5 separate regions of the Homo sapiens genome follow, and regions 2, 3, 4 and 5 are each linked to region 1. Evidence: promoter capture Hi-C in 16 types of primary human blood cells and fetal thymus (Javierre and others, 2016). All regions are on one chromosome and are shown on one strand. Each heading gives the region's core, a stretch centred on a gene start or on the middle of the fragment in contact. The rest is flanking DNA. Distances are from core to core; before and after follow the strand shown. Region 1 holds the start of FGD2 (FYVE, RhoGEF and PH domain containing 2). Region 2 holds the start of SRSF3 (serine and arginine rich splicing factor 3). Region 3 overlaps RNF8 (ring finger protein 8). Region 4 overlaps TBC1D22B (TBC1 domain family member 22B). Region 5 overlaps TBC1D22B (TBC1 domain family member 22B).

Region 1 (2,960 bases), core at 1-2,500:
GGGCCGGGAGACCAGGTGGTAAAGGAGGCCTCAGGCAAAGACAACCCAGTGTCCTGGGATCAGGGAGGCCTGGGGATGGAGCAGCAAGAACATGGTCATCCAGGCTCCCAACGAACCTTTGCTGGAACTGTAGGACACCCACTTTTGCTTTGGAAATCCAACTTCTCTTGTATTCTTCCTGGGTGACCTTGGGCAAGTTACTTAACCTCTCTGATTCTGTTTCTTCCTATGTAAAGTGGGGATAGGAATAGTACCTACCTCATGAGGTTGTTATAGGATTAATAAGAAAATACTCATAAGCATGAAAAAGAGTGCATGTTAGCTATTATTATCCTCTGAGTTTCAGGGAGGAAACTGCCCTCCCTTGGGGCAATGAGGTGATGACAGCAACAACTAAAATGAGAGAACCCCAGTGGGGAGGTGGGAACATCACAGTACTCCCTGCCACCCTTACCAGGTTTGTGATTATTTTAAATAAAACATGCTGTTTCCTGGCCAGGCACAGTGGCTCACATCTGTAATCCCAGAATTTTGGGAGGCCGAGGCAGGAGGATCACCTGAGGCCAGGAGTTCAAGACCAGCCTGAGCAACATGGTGAAACCCCATCTCTACTAAAAATACAAATAATTAGCAGGGCGTGGTGGCAGGCCCTGTAATCCCGGCTACTCAGGAGGCTGAGGCAGGAGAATCGCTTGAACCGGGAGGCAGAGGGTGCAGTGAGCCGAGATCCCACCACCGCACTCTGTCTCTAAAGAATAAAAAAGACATTATTTCCTTACAGCTGTGAGCAGGGGCAGATGCAGAAAAGAAGGTGCTGGGAAAGAGGCCAAGTAAAAGCCACTGGACCTTCTGAAGGAGAAAGTGTGGTTGGCTGGAACCACTAGGCCAAGAAACCAGCCAAGGGTCTGGCTCCGGGTGGCCTTTTTTTTTTTTTTTTTTTTTAAGAGACGGTGTCTCACTATGTTGCCCAGGTTGGTCTTGAACTCCTGGGCTCAAGCAATCCTCCTGCTTCGGCCTCCCAAAGCACTGGAATTAGAGGTGCAAACCACTGCACCAGCCCAGACTGGGCTCCAGAAGCTACCTCTGGGCCCTGTTGCCACCTCTTAGGTGGCTTCTGGAATGGGGGTCTACAGGTGTGAAAGGTCAGCCCCCCTGAGGGAGAGGTGGGGCCCGAGCAGGCTCCTCCCACTGCGGGAGTGCTGGCCTTTCCCCTGCAGGGCTGTGGCTCTGGGACCACTTCCTCTTTCTTCACTCTGAAGCCAAGAGCCGACCTTCTGAGCCCTCAAGAAAGATCAGAACAGATTCATGGGTGATTTAGCCTATCTGTCCCAGGCCAGCGTGGCTGAGTGTGCTGGCTGGAGGCCTCTCTCTCTGCTTCGAGGGTAGCTGAGATCCACCCCGGAAACCGGCAGGATGAAGGGGGCAAGTGAGGAGAAGCTGGCATCTGTGTCCAACCTGGTCACTGTGTTTGAGAATAGCAGGTATGGGCAGCTGGGGTGGGAGGGTCACCATGGTGGGCTGGCAGCCACCCTCCAGCCTTTCTGGCAGCTCTCTCCCTGGGCCCTGCCCCGGACCCTCCTCCTGCAGGGGCAGCCCCGCGTTCCTCGGTCACGGATTCCTTGGAGCATGGGAGAGTGTCGGTGGGACACCAGGAGCCAGGCAGGGGTGAGAGTGCCAGTGTGTGTTGGGAGAGTCCAGACAGGTGTGGTTACGAGCAAGCATGGGCAGACCAAAGCCTGTGTGTGGGCACAGGACCCCACCCAGTGCCTGCCAGCACCTCTCAGAAAAGGTAGCTGATACTCACCAAGAATTTACGCCCTATGATTAGGATAACCATATAATTTATCATTCAGCACACAATTGAAACTGAAAGTAAATGCCAAATAAAATGTGGTGGTTGTGGGGGAGGCATTACAGGTAAAGCTGGGACCGTATGAGGCAAACCAGGATGTACGGGCAGCATCCTGATGGGGTACTCCCTACTCTAAGTTCATGTCCTTACTTATTTAATTTAGTCATCGAACAGCCTAATAGGGGTAGATTCTGTTTCTGTTCCCGTCTTATAGATGAGGAAATGGAGACACAGAGAGGTGAGGATGCCAAGTGCTTTAAGTATCTGGGGCAATGCTGGGGCGTCTGTCTGGAGGGAAAAGGCTGGGCCAGATGCGTGGAGTCATTGGTAGCCCTGGGAGCATGTGTGTTTGTGTGTGTGCGCGTGTGTGTATGTGTGTGTTGTGTGTTATGTGTGGCATCAATCCATTCTGCAGGCATTTCTTAAGCTCAGGACTGTGTTAGGGGCTGTCCCAGGTAGGGTTTTCTGGAAATAGACTCAGACAGAGGTTTGCCTCAGGTGATTTATCAGGGAGAGCTTTTGGGAACAACAGCTGTGGGTGTGAGGGAAGCAGGGCCGGGCAGGGGGAGATGCTGAACTGCAGTGCACCTGCCACAGAGGCCTCAGCCTGTCCCAGGGAGCTCTGGAGCTGGGATGCCTCTCGGTTGTTCCAGCTGAGGAAGAGGGCTGGGTATTTGTATCTCCATGTGGACTGGACAAGAGACTCTGGGTGAGGCAGCTCTCTCTTCCAGAGAGTGATTCCCAGAGAGGGACTCAGCCAATAAATTACCCGGCAGCCCCCAGTACTACCAGTAGCTGGTGGGGATGGTGTGGGGAGGCCTCATTCCTGAAGGAGGGACATGGGTGGCACAGCACAGCATCCTACAGGAACTGTAGAGGATGAAGAAGGGTTTCAGTATTTGGATGCTGAGCTCATCGAATAACTATGATGCAAGGTCATAGACAGTAGATGTCCTAGGAATGGCCCGGATGCTGTATTGAGGGCACTCATGGCAGGCAATGTTTCCTGTAGGCTTCAGGGTGGAGATGGCATAGATGTAGACCTAGAAGTCTTCAACTTCCTGAGCTGGGTGATTCTCCCCTGCCTCTCCCGGGATCTTTGCCAAGC
Region 2 (2,960 bases), core at 130-2,629, 410 kb before region 1:
GAAAGGCTCGAGATACCCCTCCTGGCATTTGCTTGGGGGCCAGAATTTACATTCAATCTTCTTCAGAAACTTCCCTTTCCGGGTGTTTGCTAAAGGTGATAGTTTCCAGGTCACCTGACCGGTCTCCTTTGCTGTCGGCGCCAAGTCCTGCAAGTTTGCTTGAGAGACGAGAAACCAGCAAGAGTTGGGCAAACTTTCCAAACCAGGCTTTTCCTTCAGTGTGGAATCTAGGCGGCCACAGTCTGGTGCCAGCTGGGTCACAAACAGCTCCGTGACCTGTTTGTAAACGCGATGCTCTTAGTTCCAGACTAACCGCTCACAAGGGTGAAGCACTTAATTAATTCATCTCTTAATCTTGTTAGGGGCCAACGGCTCCTATTAGTGTTTGAGCGTGACGGCGACGGTGCTGTTTATGAAGCCCTAGCCTATTTGGAGGTGAGGAAGAGGAGTCTGTGGGTAACCTGGAGGTCGACAGACCGGGAGGAACGCTCGAGGGAGCACCAGGCCTGTTACAACGAGCGCGCGCCGACGCACGTCTCCACCCACCCGGCGCAACCGCCAGAGCGCGCTCCCAGCAACCGCGGCTCTCGCTGCGTTTGTAGCCATACGTCACGGCCTCTTCTGCTTCTCATTGGGGGAGCCCGTCCAATCATGTGATTCCAGTATGGCGTATAAATAAAGGCGAGGAGAAGGCGGTGGTCCGCCATTTCGTGGACGCCGGGTGAGTGAGAGAGTTGGTTGGTGTTGGGCCGGAGGAAAGCGGGAAGACTCATCGGAGCGTGTGGATTTGAGCCGCCGCATTTTTTAACCCTAGATCTCGGTAAGAGACCAGCGAAAGAGGGAATGAGGTGGAAATGGAATTTAACAGTACCAAGGAGCCAGGCCCAATGGCGGCGCCAGATTGAGACAAAGAGGCGCCGCCGCCATTTTGTGACGTTCAGCACGGGGCGGTGGCGGGGGCTCCCGGCCCATCGGAGGGTTTCCTAGTCTTGGAGTGGAAGTCTTTATATTCCTCATTGGGGCATGAGCCAGGATGGGGGTTACCTGGGAGTTGGGAACCACAAAGGGGAGCCGATAGCCGAGTTGTATTCCAGGTCACGGCCTTTTTATTTTTATGGCGCCTTTTTTTTTTTTGGCCCCTCATTTAATTGGGAAGCTTCTCAGAATGTTTTTGTAAAGTCACTAACCAAGACCGGACCTTTCAGTTCATATTAAATGGCCCCCGTAGTCACCTTACTTTCATGTAGTTTCAGATTTTGCAGCCTGAATCTAATCACCTTTTTCTAAGACCGAAAGATCTTCCTTGAACTTAAGATTCGTTCTTTCATCGCTTCCCATTAAAATGGAGGCTTAAGACAGGTGCCAGCAGTGTTTTTAAAAATTTTCACCAGTGGTTTGGTCTTAGAACTTACTCCTGGGCACAGGGTGTGGTCACGGCAAATAGGATGTGTCTGGACTGGATATTTTAATTAGACAAGCCCAGAGTAAGAAGAACGTGGTGTTTATGGAAAGCACTTCAGCTGAATTATTGAGTAGATGGTTTTTATGTAATTGAAACTGGTCTACAAGTTTATCAGATTCATCGTCGAAGTGACTCAGTAATAAAGCTTTATCAAATACAAGTCCGCCAAGGAAGAACAAAAAAATAAGTCCCCAAAGTGCAGTAAATTTTTTAGTAGCAAATATCTCTTTGTAATTTTTTATTAAAGTGAAATTATCTTTAAGTGGTATTTAGTATATTCAGTGTTGTGTAATCATCACTTACACGTAGTTCCAAAACATTTCCGTCACCTCCCCCCGCAGGAGACTACTACCCATTGAGCACTTACTCCCAGATTCCCTGTCCCCCTTCCTCTAGTCCCTAGCAACCACTAATCTTCCTGTCTCTCTGAACTTAGCTATTTTAGATATTTAGTATTTATGGAATCGTGTACTTTTATGTCTGGCTTCTTTAACTTAGCGTAATGTTTTCAAGATTTTCCAACGTTGGAGGATTTGTCAGTACATCATTCTGAATAATACTCATTTTATGTCTATACCACATTTTGCTTATCCGTTTCTGTTGATGGACATTTGGGTTAACATCTTTGGGCTACTGTGAATAAGTGCTACTATGAGTTTACATTTTTTAAAAAACTGTAAAGTTGGTCTCGTTGCTTGATAAATTTTTACCGCGTAAGACTCTGGTCTATCTAATGACATTTGATACTAGCCTTGTTCCTATAGTTCCAAATGACCAAAATAGGCATTTATTTATTTATTTATTTGTGGTTTTTTTTTGGCGATGGAATCTCGCTCTGTCGCCGAGGCTGGAGTGCAGTGGCGCGATCTCGGCTCACTGCCACCTCCGCCTCGCGGGTTCAAGCGATTGTTCTGCCTCAGCCTCCCGAGTAGCTGGGACTACAGGTGTGCGCCACCATGCCCGGCTAATTTTTGTATTTTTAGTTGTGACGGGGTTTCACCATATTGGCCAGGCTGGGTCGAACTCCTGACCTCGTGATTCGCCCGCCTCGGCTTCCCAAAAGTTCTGGGATTGCAGGTGTGAGCCGCCGCGCCCGGTCCATGGGCATTTTTTTAAAAGTGAAAATCGTTGGCCTTATTTTTATTAAAGCTGGTAAGTTTTGGCTTATGTAGGTACTTTGAATCGCTTGCCTGGTAGTATAACCTTAAGGACTAGCTTTCTTCATCATTGTTTTATTTAGTTTTGAGTCCCCAACAGAATTCTCTTCTGTTTTTCTAGAAATGCTTTATTTTGGGGATTAAATGAAATAACAGGTTAAGTCTCTTAACTCACGGCCCAGATGGTGGTAAATGCTCCTCCAGTTGTTCTCAACGTTCCAAGGAAGCTGTTTTTTTCTTCACTAATTGCTGGCTTCCTGAGGGTTAGGAGTAAAGATAATGGGGCGGGGTGGCGGGGGGGGGGAAATGGGTGCTTAGCAGTAACATTTCTTGTTTGGTTT
Region 3 (2,960 bases), core at 243-2,742, 350 kb after region 1:
ATAACTCAGTGGGCAAGTGTTATTCCTTTAGATTCAATTGTTGTGGATTAATTTATGACTTCTGAATAGCTTGTCAGTACTGCAGTCTTGGGCAGGTGGGATGGGGAGGACGAATTAAAGCACCTGAAGAAAGGGCAAGAAGACTATAAAGCAGTCTTAGACATATTCTAAACCATTTGATAGTTCTTTATGGGGCCAGTTGCATGGGGAGGGACCCATATAAACTCAGTGGTAAGACTGTGGCTGGCTTCAGGGACCTGTGTGTAGGAGAAGCCTGCCAGGCTTGGCTGCCTGCAAGGTCAGGTCGTAGCATAGCCTGAAAAGAAGTCTGAATCAAAGGCAAGAGAAGAAGTTGTACTTATTGTTATGGTCCCCAAATCATAGCACAAGCTGTTTTGCACAAGATTTTAAAAGATACGCTAATAACATAACAGCAAAGGTAGGTCAGTTCCCTGCCTTTCCAGTTCTTAGTCTCAGATGTTGTGGATAAAATAATAAAACAGGGTTCCTTTCATTTCATTGATGGGAACACTGTAGTAAATTGTCTAATTAAGTGGCTTTAAGCTTGTTAAAGCAATGCATAGAGTTTGGTGGAAAAACAAGTAGAGATTTATTGCAAATTAGCTAGTTCTCAGGTACTATAAAGTATCTAGGCCTTTGGGGAAAACAACAGAACCTTCTCTCCCCTTTTCTTCTCTTGTATTTAGTTTTCATTAAGTTTTCTGCCCCAAGGGAAAAAAGGGAAAGGATGGTTATATTTACTGGTTTGGGGGCTTTTTTGTGGGGTGTTTTGTTTTGAGACAGAGTACTCCTTCTGTCACCCAGGCTGGAGTGCAGTGGTGTGATCACACCTTCACCTCCCTGGTTCAAGTGGTTCTTCTGTCTCAGCCTCCGAAGTAGCTGGGATTACAGATATGCACCACTATGCCCAGTTACTTTTTGTGTTTTCAATAGAGGTGGGGTTTCGCCATGTTGGCCAGGCTGGTCTCGAACTCCTGGCCTCATGTGATCCGCCCGCCTGGGCTTCCCAAAGTGCTGGAATTACAGGTGTGAGCCACCACACCTGGCCAGATTTACTTGTTATTTGAGAAACAGTAGGAATTGTGCCCAGGAGGAAAGAGATAGTCTTAGTGAAGGTGGGCAAAGACAGGATGATCTTTTAGATCAATAATGTGTGTAAGCTCAAAGGCTTGCAAAACTATTGTAAATGAAAACAACCCCTCACATATGGGTCGTCAGTCAGTTCCCACGGGAAATTCAGTGTTATGTTGAGTGGTCCTGAGATTTCCAGGTAACCTCACTGCACTCTTTAACTACAGTATAGGTGAAATATCAGTAGTACCAAGGTAAATTCTAAGACCAGGCAGTGCAGGGAAGGATGTAAAAGAATGATTCCTTTTTCTGGGTTCAGAGTCTGTTGGAGGCAATGTCAGGAAAAGGCACTCTTCTACTGTTTTGGTACTGTTTTCCCCTGGCTACTCACAATGGCAGTCTGGCTGTCTCCCCTCAAGTATTAGCATGTAATATGAGATGCTTCCTCTCTTAGAGATAAAGCTACCTAAATAGAAATTTTACTGAATATGGACGACAGATAAATCCCTAGCCATTCCATTTTTAACAGATATGTGTATTCAGAGGAACTTCTATAATTAATATAATTCTGGCAGAGTGTGAAAGAACTGAAAAACTTTGTGCTCAGTGTTGGTGGAGTGATCACCACAACATTTTAAAGAGAAACAAGTGAGACTGTATGAGTTCCAACTGCTGCTCCATATTTTCCAATGGTAATACAGTCTCTAACTTCTGACCTAAAAACACCCACCCTAAAATCTTGAGGACTCATATGCAAGACCTCTTTATTCTTTCATTCATTCTCAAATACTTAACTGAACACTATGCCAGGTATAGAAACACAGTGGTAAACAAGACAGATAAAGTCCCTGCTTATCTAATTTATATTCTATTACGGGGACAGAGGGGAAAAGTAAAATAAACAAGATAATTTTGGTCTGTGATAAGTACTTCCTAATAACTGAAGAAATATGATGGGAAGCAGACAACCAACTTTAGACAGAGGTAATCAGAGTAGGCTTATGAGTAGCTGGAACATGAAAGATAAGGAGCCTGTGCAAGATCTGAGAGAAGAGTGTTCTTAGCAGAGGGGCTAAGTGAAAAGACCCTCAGGTAGGCTGGCACTTCGGGGAGATGGGCTTAAGGAACAACAACAACAAAAAAGTTTGAGGGGCTGGAGCAGCTAGTGTTGGCACTATGGTATGAGTTAAGACTAAAGAGTAGAAGGGCTCAGGACATTCAGGGTCTTATAGGCCATGGAAGGAAGTTTGAATGATTGGACAGTTTTAAGGAAAGAAGGAAAATGACCTGATTTAAAATTTTTACATTTCTATTCCAGTTACTATTATAAAGCTTATGGGGGCTAGAGTGAGAACAGAAACAGTAGGAGGCCAGGTGGTTTGGACTAAGGCTGTGGCTGCAGAGATAGGAATGAACAGACTTAGGACATATTTGAATTATAGCCCATATAATTTACCAGTGATTTCAATGTGGGGATGAGGGACAGAGATGAATCAAAGATGGCTTCTGGGTTATGGGTTGAGTAGTTGGTTGGATAGTATTGTGAATACTGAGATAAGAGTTTGTGGGGAGGAATAGATTAGGTCAGTGAGTCGTGGTGGTCTTTGAGGGACTGAGGAGGACAGGCATTCTGAAAGATTTTAAAGAGAAGAGAAGAGGGCAGTTTTAGCTAACTTTGGTTTAAAGTTCCCAGTTAAGGTTGTGATATGGGACATTAAAGAGGTCGTTTGTGCACTAAGAAGAATATGCAGGGAGCCGGGCGCGGTGGCTCACACCTGTAATCCCAGCACTGTGGGAGGCTGAGGCAGGCAGATCACTTGAGATCAGGAGTTCGAGACCAGCCTGACCAACATGGTGAAACCCCGTCT
Region 4 (2,960 bases), core at 335-2,834, 290 kb after region 1:
CCTCCCAAAGTCCTGAGAGTATAGGCGTGAGCTACCACACCTGGCCAGATTGACTTCATTTTTTAATTTTTTATTTTTTTCAGATAAATAGAAAGTCTGGTTTTATTTTAAGCTTTACATTTTTGTCAAGTGCAAGGTCAGCCAGCTAAGATTTCCAATAATTACTGAAGTAATAACTTCTGCTGGCATGTCTTCTGAGTCTCCGTTTCCTCCACTGATATTCATCCAAATAATAAGAGAAACACAATTGCAGTTGAGTTTACTATTATCAATGGCACTGTCATCAAGGTTCTTACAGATCAAATAAGGTTCATTAGCTGAGATTTAATTCCTGGCTCCTCTCCAAATCCATCGATTCCCTGGTCTCTTCCCCAGCCAAAGTTCCACATGGCTGGGGAGGCCTCACAATCATAGCAGAAGACAAATGAGGAGCAGAGTCATGTCTTACATGGTGGCAGGCAAGAGACTAACTTCAATTTTGGAAGAAGTTCTACCGTGGGTAAAATGCTATCAAACAGAGTCACATGCTACAGAGAAATCTTTTGTGAAAGGAAAAATCAATCAATGTGGCCAACTTCATTACTGTCTTGTTTAAGAAATTGTCACAGCCAGCCCAGCCTTTAGCAACCATCACCCTGGTCAGTCAGCAGCCATCAACATTGAGGCAAGATCCTCCACTAGCAAAAAGATTATGACTTGCTGAAGGCTCAGATGATTGTTAGCACTTTTTAACAATAAAATATTATTTACTAATTAGTGGGGTGTGGTGGCATGCACCTGTAATTCCAGCTACTGGAGAGGCTGAAGCAGGAGAACTGCTTGAACCCAGGAGGCAGATGTTGCAGTGAGCTGAGATCGCACCACTGTACTCCTGCCTGGGCAACAGAGGGAGACTCCATCTCAAAAAATAATAATAAATAAAAAATAAAGTATTATTTATTTGTTGATTGATTGATTAATTGAGACAGGATCTCACTCTGTCACCCAGGCTGGATTGATTGATTGATCGAGACAGGGTCTCACTCTGTCACCCAGGCTGGAGTGCAGTGGCATGATCATGGCTCATTGTAGCCTCAATCTGCTGGCTCAAGTGATCCTCTCACCTCAGCGTCCTGGATAGTTGGGACTACAGGGGAGTGCCATCACATTTGGCTAATTTTTTGTATTTTTTTTAGAGATAAATTTTTGCCACATTGCCGAGGCTCGTCTTGAACCCCTGAGCTCAAGCATCCTCCTGCCTCAGCTTCCCAAAGTGTTGGGATTACAGGCATGAGCCACCATGCCTGATCCTAGTCTTACCACCTCTCTCCATTCTCTACTCCCTCACCATTGTGAATTATTTTGAAGCAAATCTCAATGTCAAACATCGTATCATTTTATGCATAAATTTTTTATATGTATCTCTGAAAAGTATATATGTATACACACACACATACACACACGTGCACACACATATATATATATTATAATTTTTTGGTTTTTTTTTTGAGACAGTCTCACTCTGTCGCCCAGACTGGAGTGCAGTGGCACGATCTCAGCTCACTGCAAGCTCCATCTCCCGGGCTCAAGCAATCCTCCCACTTCAGCCTCCCAAGTAGTTGGGACTATAGCCTTGCACCACCATGCCTGGCTAATTTTTGTATTTTTTGTAGAGACAGGGTTTTGCCATGTTGCCCAGGCTGGTCCTGAACTCCTGGACTCAAGCCATTTACCTGCTTCAGCCTCCTAAAGTGCTGGGATTACAGGCGTGAGCCACTGCACCTGGCCAAAGACATTTTTTAAAACACACAGCCATAATGCAATTATCACATCTAAAAAATAGTAATAGCTCCTTTATGTAATCTAATATACAGTCGTATTCATAAATCTATTCAACAGTTTGAATCAGGGTCCAAATCAGAGCTGCGTATTATAGTTGGTTGTCTTTCTTAATCCTCCAGCTCCCATCCATCTCTCTTTCCCTTAGGAGTTTGTAGCTGTAGCCCTTGTTTTTCTGGCCAAGCAGTAACATTACACTGGTTTTTAAAGTACTTTACTATTTGCAAAGAACTTGGACATACTGATTTCCTTTAGTAGGGCCCAATATCTCTTTAAGGTAGATGTATCAAGCCATTTTATAAGGTGAAATATCCAAGATTCAGGGGTCTAATGAGCTTCTTGAACTCAAATACCTGTGCTTGGCTTTAATACCTGTGCTCTCTATATGACTTGGTGGTGTCTCAACTTCAATCCTTGTCCTTGGACTTCTAATGGCTTCACCTATTATATTTAATGCTCTAAAGCAGGCAGTGCCTTTCTTATTGCTTATCTTTCTAAAAAAAATTGTAGTAGAAGTATGTTTATTAAAAAATCAAAACAACATTCTACTGTAAAGATATATGCACATGTATGTTTATTGCAACACTGTTCACAATAGTAAAGACTTGGAACCAACCCAAATGCCCATCAATGATAGACTGGATAAAGAAAATGTGACACATTTACACCATGGAATACTATGCAGCCATAAAAAAGAATGAGTTCATGTCCTTTGCAGGGACATGGATGAAGCTGGAAACCATCATTCTCAGCAAACTAACACAGGAACAGAAAACCAAATATCACATGTTCTCACTCATAAGTGGGAGTTGAACAATGAGAACACATGGACACAGGGAGGGGAACATCACACACCAGGGCCTGTTAGGGGTTGGGGGGCCCAGGGGAGAGATAGCATTAGGAGAAATACGTAATGTAAATGACAGGTTGATGGGTGCAGCAAACCACCATGGCATGTGTATACCTATGTAACAAACCTGCGCGTCCTACACATGTATCCCAGAACTTAAAGTATAATTTAAAAAAAAAATCAAAACAATATAGAAGTGTTAACAAACACACACCCACCTCCAAGATAACTACAGTTGTTAACCTCTTGTTGTGTGTTCTTCCAGACCTTTTCCTATGTATGGATGGAGCTG
Region 5 (2,960 bases), core at 161-2,660, 270 kb after region 1:
CTTGTAATCCCAGCACTTTGGGAGGCCGAGGAGGGCAGATCACCTGAGGTCAAGAATTTGAGACCAGCCTGATTAGCTGGGCATGGTGGTGCGTGCCTGTAGTCCCAGCTACTCAGGAGGCTGAGGCAAGAGAATCGCCTGAACCGAGGAGGTGGAGGTTGCAGTGAGCCTAGATCGCACCACTGCACTCCAGCCTGGGTGACAGAGCAAGGCTCCTTTTCAAAACAAACAAAAATATATATATATATAAAACGAAAACCTTCAAATGCATAAAAAGCGTATGAAGAAAAATACAACACACACCCTGGTACCCACCCCTCAGCTGGTTAACGGCCTTCATTTTTCTCAGAAGTCAGCACCTGTTAGAACCTGACAGGCAGCCTGGCCCGTCTCTCCCTGTAGTGTGTTCATCCGGTCCTGGTGTGCGTGTGTGTCACCCTGTGTTAGGCCACCAGCTTCAAGTCAGCTCTTTGACCTGAGTTAAAATTCAACTTCTTGATTTGATGATTGATTAAAGAATTCTCAGAACATCCAGTATTTATGCAATCTTAATGTACACGTGGCCTCTAAGGAGGAAAAACAGTAATAACCACATACTCCTGGGTGTTATATTAGATGACAGATCTTTCTTACACAGCTGCATGTTTGTTCTCGACAGCGAATCCCCTGAGGTGGTACTGCAGGTGGTAGATCAGGTCCCCTTTTACAAAGGAGAAGCAGCCATGGTGGATGAGTCCAGAACGTGCAGCCTCAGTTTTATTTTCTTTGATTTGGGTACTTGTCTCCTATAGTTCTTTTTTTTTTTTTTTTTGAGACGGAGTGTCACTCACACTGTCATCCAGGCTGGAGTCAGTGGTGTGATCTTGGCTCACTGCAACTTCCACCTCCCAGGTTTAAGCAATTCTCCTCCCTCAGCCTCCCGAGTAGCTGGGATTATAGGCATGCGCCACCATGCCTGGCTAATTTTTGTATTTTTTTAGTAGAGATGGGGTTTCACCATGTTGGCCAGGCTGATCTCAAACTCCTGACCTCAAGTGATCCATCTGCCTCCACCTCCCAAAGTGCTGGGATTACGGGCGTGAGCCACTGTGCCTGGCCACTCAAATAGTCTTGTTTTAAGAACAAATATTATCATTTCTATAAATAGAAAACAACATTTGTTATAAATAAGAAGAACTTCTGGGCGTGGTGGCTCATGCCTGTAATCCCAGCAATTTGGGAGGCTCAGGTGAGAGGATCACTTGAGGCCAGGAGTTTGAGACTAGCGAGAGCAACATAATGAGACCCTTATCTCTCAAAAAAAAAAAAGCTAGACATGGTGGTGTGCGCCTATAGTCCCAGCTACTCAGGAAGCTGAGGTGGAAGGATTGCTTGAGCCTAGGAGTTCAAGACTGCAGTAAGCCAAGATTTCTCTACTGCACTCCATCACTCCACCCTGGGTGACAGAGCAAGGCCCTGACTCTTAAAAGAAAAGAACCATATAAATACTCAGTGAAAAACCAAACAATCTTATTAAATCCAGAGGCAGATCTTGTTGCTAGCAAATATATTGATTCTGAGGCTGCCGTCACTTTGGCACCTAGTTAGAAAATGGTCTTAAAGACAGAGTAGCACCAAACTTCAACTTTCTTCTCAAGGCCAGCAGAAGAACTTTTAACAGAATAAAAAATGGAACAACTTTTTTATTTTGGGACTTAATGTTTAATGCTACATATGTGGACTACCTAAAATTATCTTGTTTTCTGCCAGTAGTTTATGTGCTGCTCTAAGTGATAGCAGATCAACTGTCAAATCTCTGTGGATTAACATAGTAAAGGTTTATTTCCTGCTCATGCTACATGTCTAAAATGGGGGTGGGGTAAGGGCAGAGGGCAGGCTCCTCGACATAGTTACTGCTGCTCCACATAGCCACTCAGTTACCTAGGCTGAAGGAGGTTCTACCATCTTGCCAGTGCATCATGATAGAAGAAAAGCTATGGATCAGGCATGGTGGCTCACACCTGTAACCCCAACGATTTGGGAGGCCGAGGTGGGAGGATCACTTGAACCCAGGAGTTCAAGACCAGCCTGGGCAACATAGTGAAACCTTGTGTCTACAAAAAATAATAATAAAATTAGCCAGGCATCGTGGTGTACACCTGTAGTCCCAGCTACTCAAGAGGCTGTGGTGGGAGGATCACTTGAGCCCAGGAGGTCAAGGCTGCAGAGAGCCATGATCATACCACTGCACTCCAGCCTAGGTGACAGAAACTCTGTCTCAAAAAAAAAAAAGAGAGAGGTTATACAGAACTGACACCTATTCTCTACTTTGCCTGGAAGTAATCGCCTCATTTCTCCTCAGTCCATTGGCCGGTATTGGTCATATGGCCTCACCTAAGTGTATGGGGGCCAGGAAGTATACAAGAGCACATGGGATATTTGGTGACCATTGCTGTCTCTGCTACATCTGTCTCTGCGATCTCAGGCTGGTCTGGATGTATCTAGATGAAGAATGGATGTGGGCAATTTTTGTTTGAAGAAGCTAATGATTATGTATGTGGTAGTTTGTAATTTATTAATATTACAATAATAAGCAAATGTAGGTGGTCAGATGTGTCAGGCCATTCCTTGGTAATCGTGTCTCCTTTCTTGAAGTTTCATTAAAGAACGATCAAAAGTCAACACAGTTCCTCTGAAGAATAAGAAGGCCTCCAGTTTTCATGAGTTTGCACGGAATACCAGTGATGCTTGGGACATTGGCGATGATGAGGAAGAGGACTTTTCCTCACCTTCTTTCCAAACTCTGAACTCAAAAGTTGCTTTGGCAACTGCAGCCCAAGTTCTAGAAAACCACAGCAAGCTGAGAGTAAAACCAGAACGGTCCCAGTCAACGACATCGGACGTCCCTGCCAACTACAAGGTCATAAAGTCCAGCAGTGATGCCCAGCTGTCCAGAAACTCTAGTAAGTCCTTCCTGCTCC

What was found. The method cuts DNA at HindIII sites, captures the fragments that hold promoters and counts their contacts. A CHiCAGO score of 5 or more calls a contact.
Region 2: a fragment that was not itself captured here is called in contact with the fragment with the promoter of FGD2 in region 1 in 1 of 17 cell types (naive B cells); the score reaches 5.3 in naive B cells.
Region 3: a fragment that was not itself captured here is called in contact with the fragment with the promoter of FGD2 in region 1 in 1 of 17 cell types (erythroblasts); the score reaches 5.0 in erythroblasts.
Region 4: a fragment that was not itself captured here is called in contact with the fragment with the promoter of FGD2 in region 1 in 2 of 17 cell types (activated CD4 T cells and erythroblasts); the score reaches 7.0 in activated CD4 T cells.
Region 5: a fragment that was not itself captured here is called in contact with the fragment with the promoter of FGD2 in region 1 in 1 of 17 cell types (activated CD4 T cells); the score reaches 5.6 in activated CD4 T cells.

The regions. Positions count from the first base shown.
Region 1 is chr6:37,004,405-37,007,364 of GRCh38, forward strand. FGD2 (FYVE, RhoGEF and PH domain containing 2) reads left to right here and starts at 1,251. Exons shown (of 16, transcript NM_173558.4): 1 at 1,251-1,481. The coding sequence starts at 1,414. RefSeq lists a silencer at 849-1,011 and an enhancer at 1,267-1,396. The HindIII fragment of the contact is 9,965 bases long and covers 1-2,960 here.
Region 2 is chr6:36,593,662-36,596,621 of GRCh38, forward strand. It overlaps SRSF3 (serine and arginine rich splicing factor 3), which reads left to right and starts at 701. Exons shown (of 6, transcript NM_003017.5): 1 at 701-820. RefSeq lists enhancers at 209-368, 477-1,158, 759-988. The HindIII fragment of the contact is 451 bases long and covers 1,155-1,605 here.
Region 3 is chr6:37,355,970-37,358,929 of GRCh38, forward strand. All of the region lies in intron 1 of RNF8 (ring finger protein 8), which reads left to right. Among named protein-coding and RNA genes, the nearest start is that of RNF8, 3.5 kb to the left of the region's middle. The HindIII fragment of the contact is 1,860 bases long and covers 563-2,422 here.
Region 4 is chr6:37,295,360-37,298,319 of GRCh38, forward strand. The region is part of intron 8 of TBC1D22B (TBC1 domain family member 22B); the gene reads left to right. Among named protein-coding and RNA genes, the nearest start is that of TMEM217B, 39 kb to the left of the region's middle. The HindIII fragment of the contact is 2,948 bases long and covers 111-2,960 here.
Region 5 is chr6:37,276,670-37,279,629 of GRCh38, forward strand. It overlaps TBC1D22B (TBC1 domain family member 22B), which reads left to right. Exons shown (of 13, transcript NM_017772.4): 3 at 2,635-2,942. Among named protein-coding and RNA genes, the nearest start is that of TMEM217B, 20 kb to the left of the region's middle. The HindIII fragment of the contact is 4,484 bases long and covers 1-2,960 here.